Linked DNA regions of Homo sapiens: region 1 is linked to region 2. Evidence: promoter capture Hi-C in human tissues and cell types (Jung and others, 2019). All regions are on one chromosome and are shown on one strand. Each heading gives the region's core, a stretch centred on a gene start or on the middle of the fragment in contact. The rest is flanking DNA. Distances are from core to core; before and after follow the strand shown.

Region 1 (4,797 bases), core at 1,386-3,885, 49 kb before region 2:
CTCAAATCAATCAGATCCTCTGACCACAGAGACTGAGGTGTAGCTAAAAGGTGCTCGCACTTCTACGAGGCCAATGGAAGCCTGGAGCACAGTTGTCAATCTGTAGAAATAAGGACTCTGTGACTCCTCCAAGACCTCTCTGTGAATGACAGTTTAAGAAGGGCCAGATCCTAAAACAGGGTCAGAGCTTAGAGTGAAGGGAAAGCTTAAAAGCCTCTGAGCAAATTCTAAAGACAGGGTCACCATAGGCTCTCAGTGACCCCCTGTGACTGAGTGGATGCAGTGATGCAAAATCTCATCATCACTGCAGAAGACAAAAGAAAAATTGTCACTCTTTCTACCTAGGATGAGAATCCCAAAATCAGGGAAGAGTCCACTTACTAAAAAGACATGAGGGAATGAAGTGCCTGGAAGAATTCGTTCCTGAACCTCTCAGGATCATTCACATTTGAGAACATTTATCAAATATTCATCCCAGACTGGGGCCATGAAGACTTCAGCTGCTTTTAGCTAATCATTGTAACTTTTTGGTGTCTCATGGTGGAAGCATGAAAGGACCTGATGAACAAATATAATCATTGCCGTCAGAGTTACTGTTATTTTTTATTGCCTTAATGTTACCTCCTTTGCCTGATCATTCCAGTTCCTCAGTCAGTGACTCACCAGCCCCTATATCTATAAAGTCACAATCCCTGAGACCTGATTTTTGTTTCACTTTGTAGATATGGAACCCGTACACATGGACTTTTTAAGAAGCTTGGAATTCCAGGGCCCACACCTCTGCCTTTTTTGGGAAATGCTTTGTCCTTCCGTAAGGTGAGTGTTTTTGAGCTTCCTCTTTTGCTTCTTATGATTGCAAAGAGCAACTTAGTTCCATCAGTAAAAATGCTTCTCCTCAAGAGGAAGGTCTGAGATTTTATACTTTCAGAAATAGCGTGTAGGCATCACCCAGAGCGTGGCAAAGTTTACCCTGGGGCTCTCTTGCTAACTCTCAGGAACCTCAAGTTTGCCTCAGTTGGACAGCCCAAATGTCAAGTAGATCCAGCAATCTGATGTTCACAACTTGATGTGCAGACTTTGTGAGCACCATAAAGAGCATTTCCTTTTTGCTCCAGGCAGGTTCCCAGGAAGGTACAGCCATACTTAGTTAGTATTAAAAGTAGGAACAGGAGCCCCTGATTGTGGCTTGTTATCTGTGGACATGAGAGTAAAACTTTCCTCTCTGTAGCAAGAGCTCATGAATAGGCTTTTTTCCCTTCCTCCTGCACAGCTTGGAAACTCAGTTTATTAGGGAGATCAAGTATTTACCATTGGGTCATTTGCACCTGCTTGAAGCCTCTTCAAAAAATGCCAAATTTTGTTGGGGAATTTCCATGGCTTTAACCCAGGTCTTACTCCCCATGACATCTGTTGCCACTTTGAGACACAGAACAAAAGTGTTCTGCTTTACTTCTTTTCCTTTGAAGGCTGCGTCTTGTGGGTGAGTCTGAGCAGGGAGTGGATGTAACTGAGATGAGATAGTGGTTGTCTATTAACCTCAGATATTTAAGCACAATATGAATTCATGGGTTTATTTTTTACACAAAGGCAGAATCACATGCAAAATCACTAGAAAGGGGATGATTTGACAAAATTATTGAATATTTAATTTCACTAAATAGAATGTCATATGTGCCTCATGGACTGGGGACTTTGGTCGAGCCTTTGTGCCTAACCTTATCTGATGCTGTGTTCAGGGCCTGGTCCCTGGATGGAAAATTATGAGCTTATTTCCACAGGGCCAGCAGCAGCAGGAGTCAGCTCTCTGGCTTAGACAATCTGACCTGCATACCTGAGGCTTGTTTCTCAGATTCTAGTTCTCCTAAGTGAGGGCTTTGTTGTCTAATTACTGCCCAGGAATTTCATATTTTTTCCCTCTGCAAAAGCAATAATTTCCCTACTTTCACATGCGTCCGTGTGAGGAGACCACCAAACAGGCTTTGTGTGAGCAATAAATGTTTTTAATCACTTGGGTGCAGGCCAACTGAGTCTGAAAAAGGAGTCAGCAAGGGGAGATAGGGGTGGGGCAGTTTTATAGGAGTGGGGTAAGCAGTGGAAAGTTACAGTTAAAGGTGGTTATCCATTGTCAGCAGTGGAGGGGGCCACAAGGTGCATGGTGGGGAGATCATAAGACTCATTGTGCAGAGAAGAATGTCACCAGGTTGATTGATCAATCAGTTGGGACAGGGCAGGAACAAGTCATAATGGAATGTCGTAAGATTGCTCAATCAGTTAAGACAGGAGCTGGCTGTTTCATTTCTTTTGCAGTTTTCAGTTGCCTCAGGCCATCTGGATGTACACGTGCAGGCTTGGGCTCAGAGGCCTGACATTCCTGTCTTTTTATATTAAGAAAAATAAAACAAAATAGTGGCAAAGTGTTGGGGCAGCAAAAATTTTTGGGGGGTGGTATGGAGAGATAATGGATGATGTTTCTCAGGGCTGCTTCAAGCGGGATTATGGGCCATGTGGACACCTTAAAGAAAATTTTATAATGAGTTACAAGGAATAGGAATTTAGGCTGTGGGGAGATCTTGGGGCAGAGGATGGTACCATGGACTTGTTAAAAGTAATATTTGTTGTATAGAATAATTGGTGATAGTCTGAATGTGTTTTTATATTAATTGAGAAACCAATTGAAGACACAAGTCCCGAATAACAGAAGGAGAAAAACAGGTACCAGAGGACTAAGAATAGGGAGGAGCTAAGACACCCAGTTAGAAAGTGTCCAGGTGGGTCCAAAATAAGTATTTGCCTGGCTGGTGAGTTTTTGGTCTTTATCTTTAAGCTTTTTTATATTGTCATATACCAGGCCAGATTGGTTTAGATAAAAACAACATTCTTCATTTAAAAATATAGAGTACTCCTTTTTCAGCAGTGAGTAGGTCAAGGCCTCAGCGATGTTGGAGGACGACTAGGGCTAAGAAGTCAACCTGGGTCTGAAGGACTGATAAAGTTTGTGATGTATCTGTAATGCTAGCAGAAAAGTCATTAGAAAGGCTACAGAAAGTTGTGACAGAAGTTGAAATACCTGCTATTCCAGCTCCAAGGGCAATAGTGGAAGCAGAAAGTCCTAACCCTACAAGTAGAGGGATTAGAGGAATAACTCATTTTTGTCTGGTTGGTGTCATGAGGGGGACAGGAAGTTGTTCAGTCCCATTTGCAAATTGAATTTTTTCAATTTGGGAATAAGAAATACTAGTGTACATGTACCTGTCCAATTAGCAGATAGACATATGTACGTGGTGGAGCCACAGAGGAAGCAGAGGCCTTGTGTGAGGCAAAACTGGAAATGCAAAGTGAAAAGATGAGAGGGAGTGCCAAAAGAGGTGTCTTGCACCCAGACTCTTAGGGATTTAGTGAGGGCATCAGCCCTTAGTGGTCATAATGGGGATTGATGGGGCAACTGGGTATGAGAAAGAGCATAGTGTCTACAACCAAACTTTCATTGCTATTCATGGGGTTCGGTATAAGTAAACAAGAAGGGGGAATGGGAGGAGAGTCTGAAGAACAAGGGGAAGGTAGCCAAGAATGGAGTGAAATACAGGGCAAATGTCTTAAGGGAAATGAGAAGTTCTAGGAGGGGGCTAGTTGCTTGTAACCTACATGGAAGAGGTCATGAAATGACAACAGAATAGAATGGGCCTGTGAGACTGGAAGGAGATATTTTTCTTGGTCTAAGAACCATCTTCCTTGAGTGGGGAGGGATTGATAGATGGAAACTTCAGTGGGAGAGTAAATAGGAGTGACTGATGAGAAGGAGAAAAACTGGCCATGAGGGACAGAAGTAGGAATACTGGTTGCTTCTTTAGCTGTCTTATCAGCATAATTGTTGCCTTGAGCAATGGGGTCTGAGGCCCTTTGATGGCCTTTGCAGTGAATGACTCCAGCTTTTTTTGGAAGTAAAGTGGCCTTGAGAAGAATTTTTATTAAAGAGGCATTAATGATGGAGGACACTTGCATAGTGAAGAAACTTCTTTCAGCCCATATTACAGCATGGTGGTGCAGGATATGGACAGCATTTAGAGTCAGTATAAATATTGATGTGTAGTCCCTTTGCAAGAGTGAGGCCCCAAGTTAAGGCAATGAGTTTGGCTTGCTGAGAGATAGTGGAGGGGGGCAGAGCAGTAGCCTCAATGATAGATGTGGAAGATAATATAGCACAGCCTGCCTTTGCTGGTGAGTGGTGATTAGGCCTGGTGGAACTGCCATCAATAAACTAACTGTGATTCAGGTGAAAAACAGGAAAGAAGGAAATATGGGGAAATAGAGTGAATGTCAGATGGATCAGAGAGATACAGTCATGGGGATAAGGTGTGGTATCAGGAATAATGTGGGAGGCCAGACTGAAGCCCAGGCCAGGTACAATGGTAATTGTGGGAGACTCAACAGAGAGTGGGTATTGCTAAAGGAGCTGGGGAACAGAAAGTATATGCATCAGGTGTGAGGAAGGAAATATATTTTGGAAGTTATGAGAACTGTATGGAGTGAGTTGAGCATAGTTTGTGATTTTGAGGGCTTCTAAAAGTATTAGGGTGGTGGCAGCCACTGCACAGAGACATGATGACCAGCCTAAAACAGTAAGGTCAAGTTGTTTGGACAAAAAGGCTACAGAGCACGGTCCCAGTCCTTGTGTAAGAATTCCAGCTGCACAGCCCTGCACTTTGGCTGTGTGTAATGAAAAGAGTTGGGATGAGTCAGGAAGAGCTAGTATGGGAACAGCCTCTAGAGCTGTCTTCAAGGAATGGAAAGAGGAGTGAG
Region 2 (4,785 bases), core at 2,270-4,769:
ATTCAGAAAGGGAGAAAACTAGCAGGAATCCTATGAAATTAGATTAAAATGGATGTATCCATGTATATTCATACCCTTCTAGATAGATAAATGGTTAGATAGGTGATAAAAAGATAACAAGAGGACAAGATAATTAGATAGACATAAATGTATGTATGTGTTTGTGTGTGTGTACAAAAAAACATATACTCCCTACTTCTCTCCACTGATAGGGCTAGGTAACAATGGCATTTCAATAGCAATGAGCACACTTAGTGGCCAGATCTTGGCTTATTAATACCATTTTCCACTGAAAGGAACCAGAGCTTTTTAGAGAAATGGCTGATTCCAGGGCCAGGATTAAGAATGTTCAAGATAAGCCTAGGATACATTTTGTGCCAGGAAGCAAGAAGATGTTCAAATGATTTCCAAGTAATGTTTGGAAATGATATTTGAAAATGATTTCCAAATGATATTTCCAAATGATTTCCAAATGATATATGGAAACACTTAAAGACTCCACTAAAGAACTATTAGATCTGATAAACAAATTCAGTAATGTTGCTGGATACAAAATCAACATACAAAAACCAGTAGCATTTCTGCATGCCAACAGTGAACAATCTGGCAAAAATAAAAAATGTAATCCCATTTACAATAACCCCAAATAAAACTAAATACCTGGGAATTAACTTAAGAGAAAGATGTCTACAATTAATATTGTAAAACACTGATGAAGGAAATTGAAGAAGACACAAAAAAGAAGGATATTCCATGTTTATATATTGTAAGCATTAATATTGTTAAAAATGTCCATACTACCCAAAGCAATGCACAGATTCAATGCAGTCTCTCAAAATACCAATGGCATTCTTCAAAGAAATAGAAAAAAAAAAACCCTAAAATTTGTATGGAACCACAAAAGACCCAGAATAGCGAAAGCTACCTTCAGCAAAAAGAACAAAACTGGAGGAATCATATTACCTGACTTCAAATTATACTACAGAGGTATAATAACCAAAACAGTATGGTACTTGTATAAAAACAGACACAGACCAATGAAATAGAATAGAGAACCCAGAAACAATTCCACACACCTACGGTGAACTCATTTTCAACAATGTTGTCAAGAACATACACTGGGGGAAAAGACAGTCTCTTCTGGTGCTGGGAAAGCTGGATTTTAACATGCAGAATAATGAAACTAGAACCCTGTATCTCACCAGACACAAAAATCAAATCAAGGTGGACGAAAGACTGAAACCTGGCTGAGTGCCGTGGCTCATGCCTGTAATCCCAGCATTTTGAGAGGCCGAGGCGGGTGTATCACTTGAGGTCAGGAGTTCAAGACCAGCCTGGCCAACATGGTGAAACCACATGTCTACCAAAAAATACAAGAGTTAGCTGGACATGCTGGTGCGTGCCTGTAGTCCCAGCTACACAGAAGGCTGAGGTGGCAGAATCACTTGGACCCAGGAGGCGGAGGTGGCAGTGAGCTGAGATCATGACAATGCACCCCAGCCTGGGCAAGAGAGTGAGACTCTGTCAGAAAAACAAAAAACAAAAAAACAAAAAACAAAACTGAAATCTGAGACCTCAAACGATGAAACTGCTACAAGAAAACATTGTGGAAACTCTTCAGGATATTGGTCTGGGCAAAACTTTCTGAAGAACTACCCCACAAGCACAGGCAACCAAAGCAAAAATGGACAAATGGATCAGATCAAGTTAAAAAGCTTCTGTACCACAAAGAAAGCAATCAACAAAGTGAAGACACAAACCACAGAATGGGAGAAAATATTTTCAAAGTCACACTCTGACAACAGATTAATAGCCAGAATACATGAAGCGCTCAAACAACTCTGTAAGGAAAAATCTAATAATCCAATCAAAAAATGGGCAAAATTTGAATAGACATTTTTCAAAAGAAGACATACAAATGCCACATAGGCATATGATAAGGTGCTCAACATCACTGGTCATTAGAGAAATGCAAATCAAAACCACAATGAGATATCATCTTACCCCAGCTAAAATGGTTTTTATCCAAAAGACAGGCAACAACAAATGCCAGCGAGAATGTGGAGAAAAGGGAACCCTTGTACACTGTTGGTGTAAATTAGTGCAACCACTATAGAGAACAATTTGGAGGTTCCTCAAAACATTAAAATTAACATTAAATAGAGCTACCACAATATCCAGAAATCCCCATGCTGGGTATATACCTGGAAGAAAGGAAATCATATATTGAAGAGATAACATCACTCCAATATTCACAATAGCCACTATTCACAAATGCCAAGATTTGGAAGCAACCTAAGTGTCCATCAACAGATGAATGGATAAAGAAAGTACTCCAATTATACACAATGGAGCACAATTCAGCCATGAAAAAAGCATGAGATCCTGTTATCTGTAATAATATGGATGGAACTGGAGGTCATCATGTTAAGTGAAATAAGCCAGGCACAGAAACACAGATATTGCAAGTTCTCACATACTTGTGGGATCTACAAATCAAAACAACTGAGCTAATGTCTGGGCCTTAGTCAGTGTTGTACCCAAGTACTGGGAGCACAGCTTTTAAAATACATCATGAATGCTTTAATACAGGAATGAATAGATGAGAGGCACAAACTGGTTGGGTGTTCTTCTGATACACAGTATCTTCCTTGACAGATTCAGTACAACTCTCAACAGGTAAGTCTCTTCATGTTATGTTACCTTATGAGGAATTAAGTGGCAGAACATGATTTCTATTATTTTCCTTTGCAGAACAAGACCAACTTTATTAGTTGGGACACAGTGTGGCTGCATTTGAGTCCCAAGCAACCATTAGTCTATTGCTATCACCACAGAGTCAGAGGGGATGAGACGCCCAGCAATCTCACCCAAGACAACTCCACCAACATTCCTGGTTACCCACCATGTGTACAGTACCCTGCTAGGAACCAGGGTCATGAAAGTAAATAATACCAGACTGTGCCCTTGAGGAGCTCACCTCTGCTAAGGGAAACAGGCATAGAAACTTACAATGGTGGTAGAGAGAAAAGAGGACAATAGGACTGTGTGAGGGGGATAGGAGGCACCCAGAGGAGGAAATGGTTACATTTGTGTGAGGAGGTTGGTAAGGAAAAATTTTAGCAGAAGGGGTCTGTCTGGCTGGGCTTGGAAGGATACGTAGGAGTCATCTAGAGGGCACAGGTACACTCCAGGCAGAGGGAATTTCGTGGGTAAAGATGTGTAGGTGTGGCTTGTGAGGATGGATTTCAATTATTCTAGAATGAAGGCAGCCATGGAGGGGCAGGTGAGAGGAGGGTTAATAGATTTCATGCCAATGGCTCCACTTGAGTTTCTGATAAGAACCCAGAACCCTTGGACTCCCCGATAACACTGATTAAGCTTTTCATGATTCCTCATAGAACATGAACTCAAAAGAGGTCAGCAAAGGGGTGTGTGCGATTCTTTGCTATTGGCTGCAGCTATAGCCCTGCCTCCTTCTCCAGCACATAAATCTTTCAGCAGCTTGGCTGAAGACTGCTGTGCAGGGCAGGGAAGCTCCAGGCAAACAGCCCAGCAAACAGCAGCACTCAGCTAAAAGGAAGACTCACAGAACACAGTTGAAGAAGGAAAGTGGCGATGGACCTCATCCCAAATTTGGCGGTGGAAACCTGGCTTCTCCTGGCTGTCAGCCTGGTGCTCCTCTATCTGTGAGTAACTGTCCAAACTCCTCTCTTTGTTTCCTTGGACTTGGGGTGCTAATCGGGCCCCTTTTCCCTTATCTGTTTTGAAGATCAAAAGAGATGTTCAAGGAGAAGTAGCTGAAGTGTTGGACGCTACAAACGCATAGAAGTTATTATTATCTTATGCAGATCTATGAATGAATAAATAAGCATTTCTCCCATCCACCTTCTAATTTTGGTGACTAGGAGGGTTTAGGGACAGCATTTGGTAGTGGGAATGATTTGATTAGCTTAGATCTGACGAAGACTAATCAATGAAAACATGGCAGCGGCAGATTACAAACTGCTGATCATGATGGACAGTGTGATCCTCATCCCCTTCCCAGGCTCTGGGGATTCTGGGTACAGGAAGGAGTGGCTTGCATTTTTGTCTCATTAATTCGCTTTCTGGGTTCTGTGTCTGCTGGAAGGGATGTGTAGCTGTATTGCCCCTGTAGACCTGGTTCCTGCTCCCCCGCCTTCCAACCCAGGATATCATTTACATAACGCACCAGGGGACACCAAGACTTCATGGGAAGCTGTCCCCTGGCTCTTCCCTCTTTCCTGTGCCATGCCCCTGAAAATCCCCTCCCTCCTATGAGTCACTCCTCCACCCTGTCATACACAGGATGGTTTATCTTGCAATGATTAACCTCTAGAGCAAAGGAGACCTGGAGGAAGTTTCGAGGATTTATTCTTTGCTTTAATCTTTTTCCTCCCGTCTCTGGGAGGCTAGGATTAATATAGAGCTTTGTTTCTCACCTAATGGGAATCTACTAGCAGCCTGAAAAGGCAGGAGCCATGAAAGCCAATTTGGATTTTACATATTTTTCCCCTTTATGTTACAGTACAGGAGGGCAAACCCTCTCACTGGTGGGATTCCTGGCATCCTAGAGCAGGTGGAGAGAAGAGTTACTTTCCACTGTGGGTAGTGGAGGCTCCACCTGTCCCATTAACTTCTACCTCAATTTGACTTTTATTAAGAGCAGGGAACCACAATGACATGAAAATAGACACTATAAACCTCATTTTAATTCTTTCACAGAAAGCTTAGGAATTCAGTGAGTTGTGGCAACATGGTTTC

What was found. The method cuts DNA at HindIII sites, captures the fragments that hold promoters and counts their contacts. A contact is called where the count stands out against the background at its distance.
Region 1: a fragment that was not itself captured here is called in contact with the fragment with the promoter of CYP3A5 in region 2 in 5 of the 25 tissues and cell types used here (IMR-90 fibroblasts, dorsolateral prefrontal cortex, liver and 2 more).

The regions. Positions count from the first base shown.
Region 1 is chr7:99,727,078-99,731,874 of GRCh38, reverse strand. It overlaps CYP3A7-CYP3A51P (CYP3A7-CYP3A51P readthrough), which reads left to right. Exons shown (of 15, transcript NM_001256497.3): 2 at 723-816. CYP3A7 (cytochrome P450 family 3 subfamily A member 7) reads left to right here. Exons shown (of 13, transcript NM_000765.5): 2 at 723-816. It also overlaps a transcript of ZSCAN25 not described here. Among named protein-coding and RNA genes, the nearest start is that of CYP3A7, 5.7 kb to the left of the region's middle. The HindIII fragment of the contact is 5,911 bases long and covers 1-4,797 here.
Region 2 is chr7:99,678,730-99,683,514 of GRCh38, reverse strand. CYP3A5 (cytochrome P450 family 3 subfamily A member 5) reads left to right here and starts at 3,519. Exons shown (of 13, transcript NM_000777.5): 1 at 3,519-3,689. The coding sequence starts at 3,619. It also overlaps a transcript of ZSCAN25 not described here. RefSeq lists promoters at 2,828-3,566, 3,434-3,599. The HindIII fragment of the contact is 4,941 bases long and covers 2,549-4,785 here.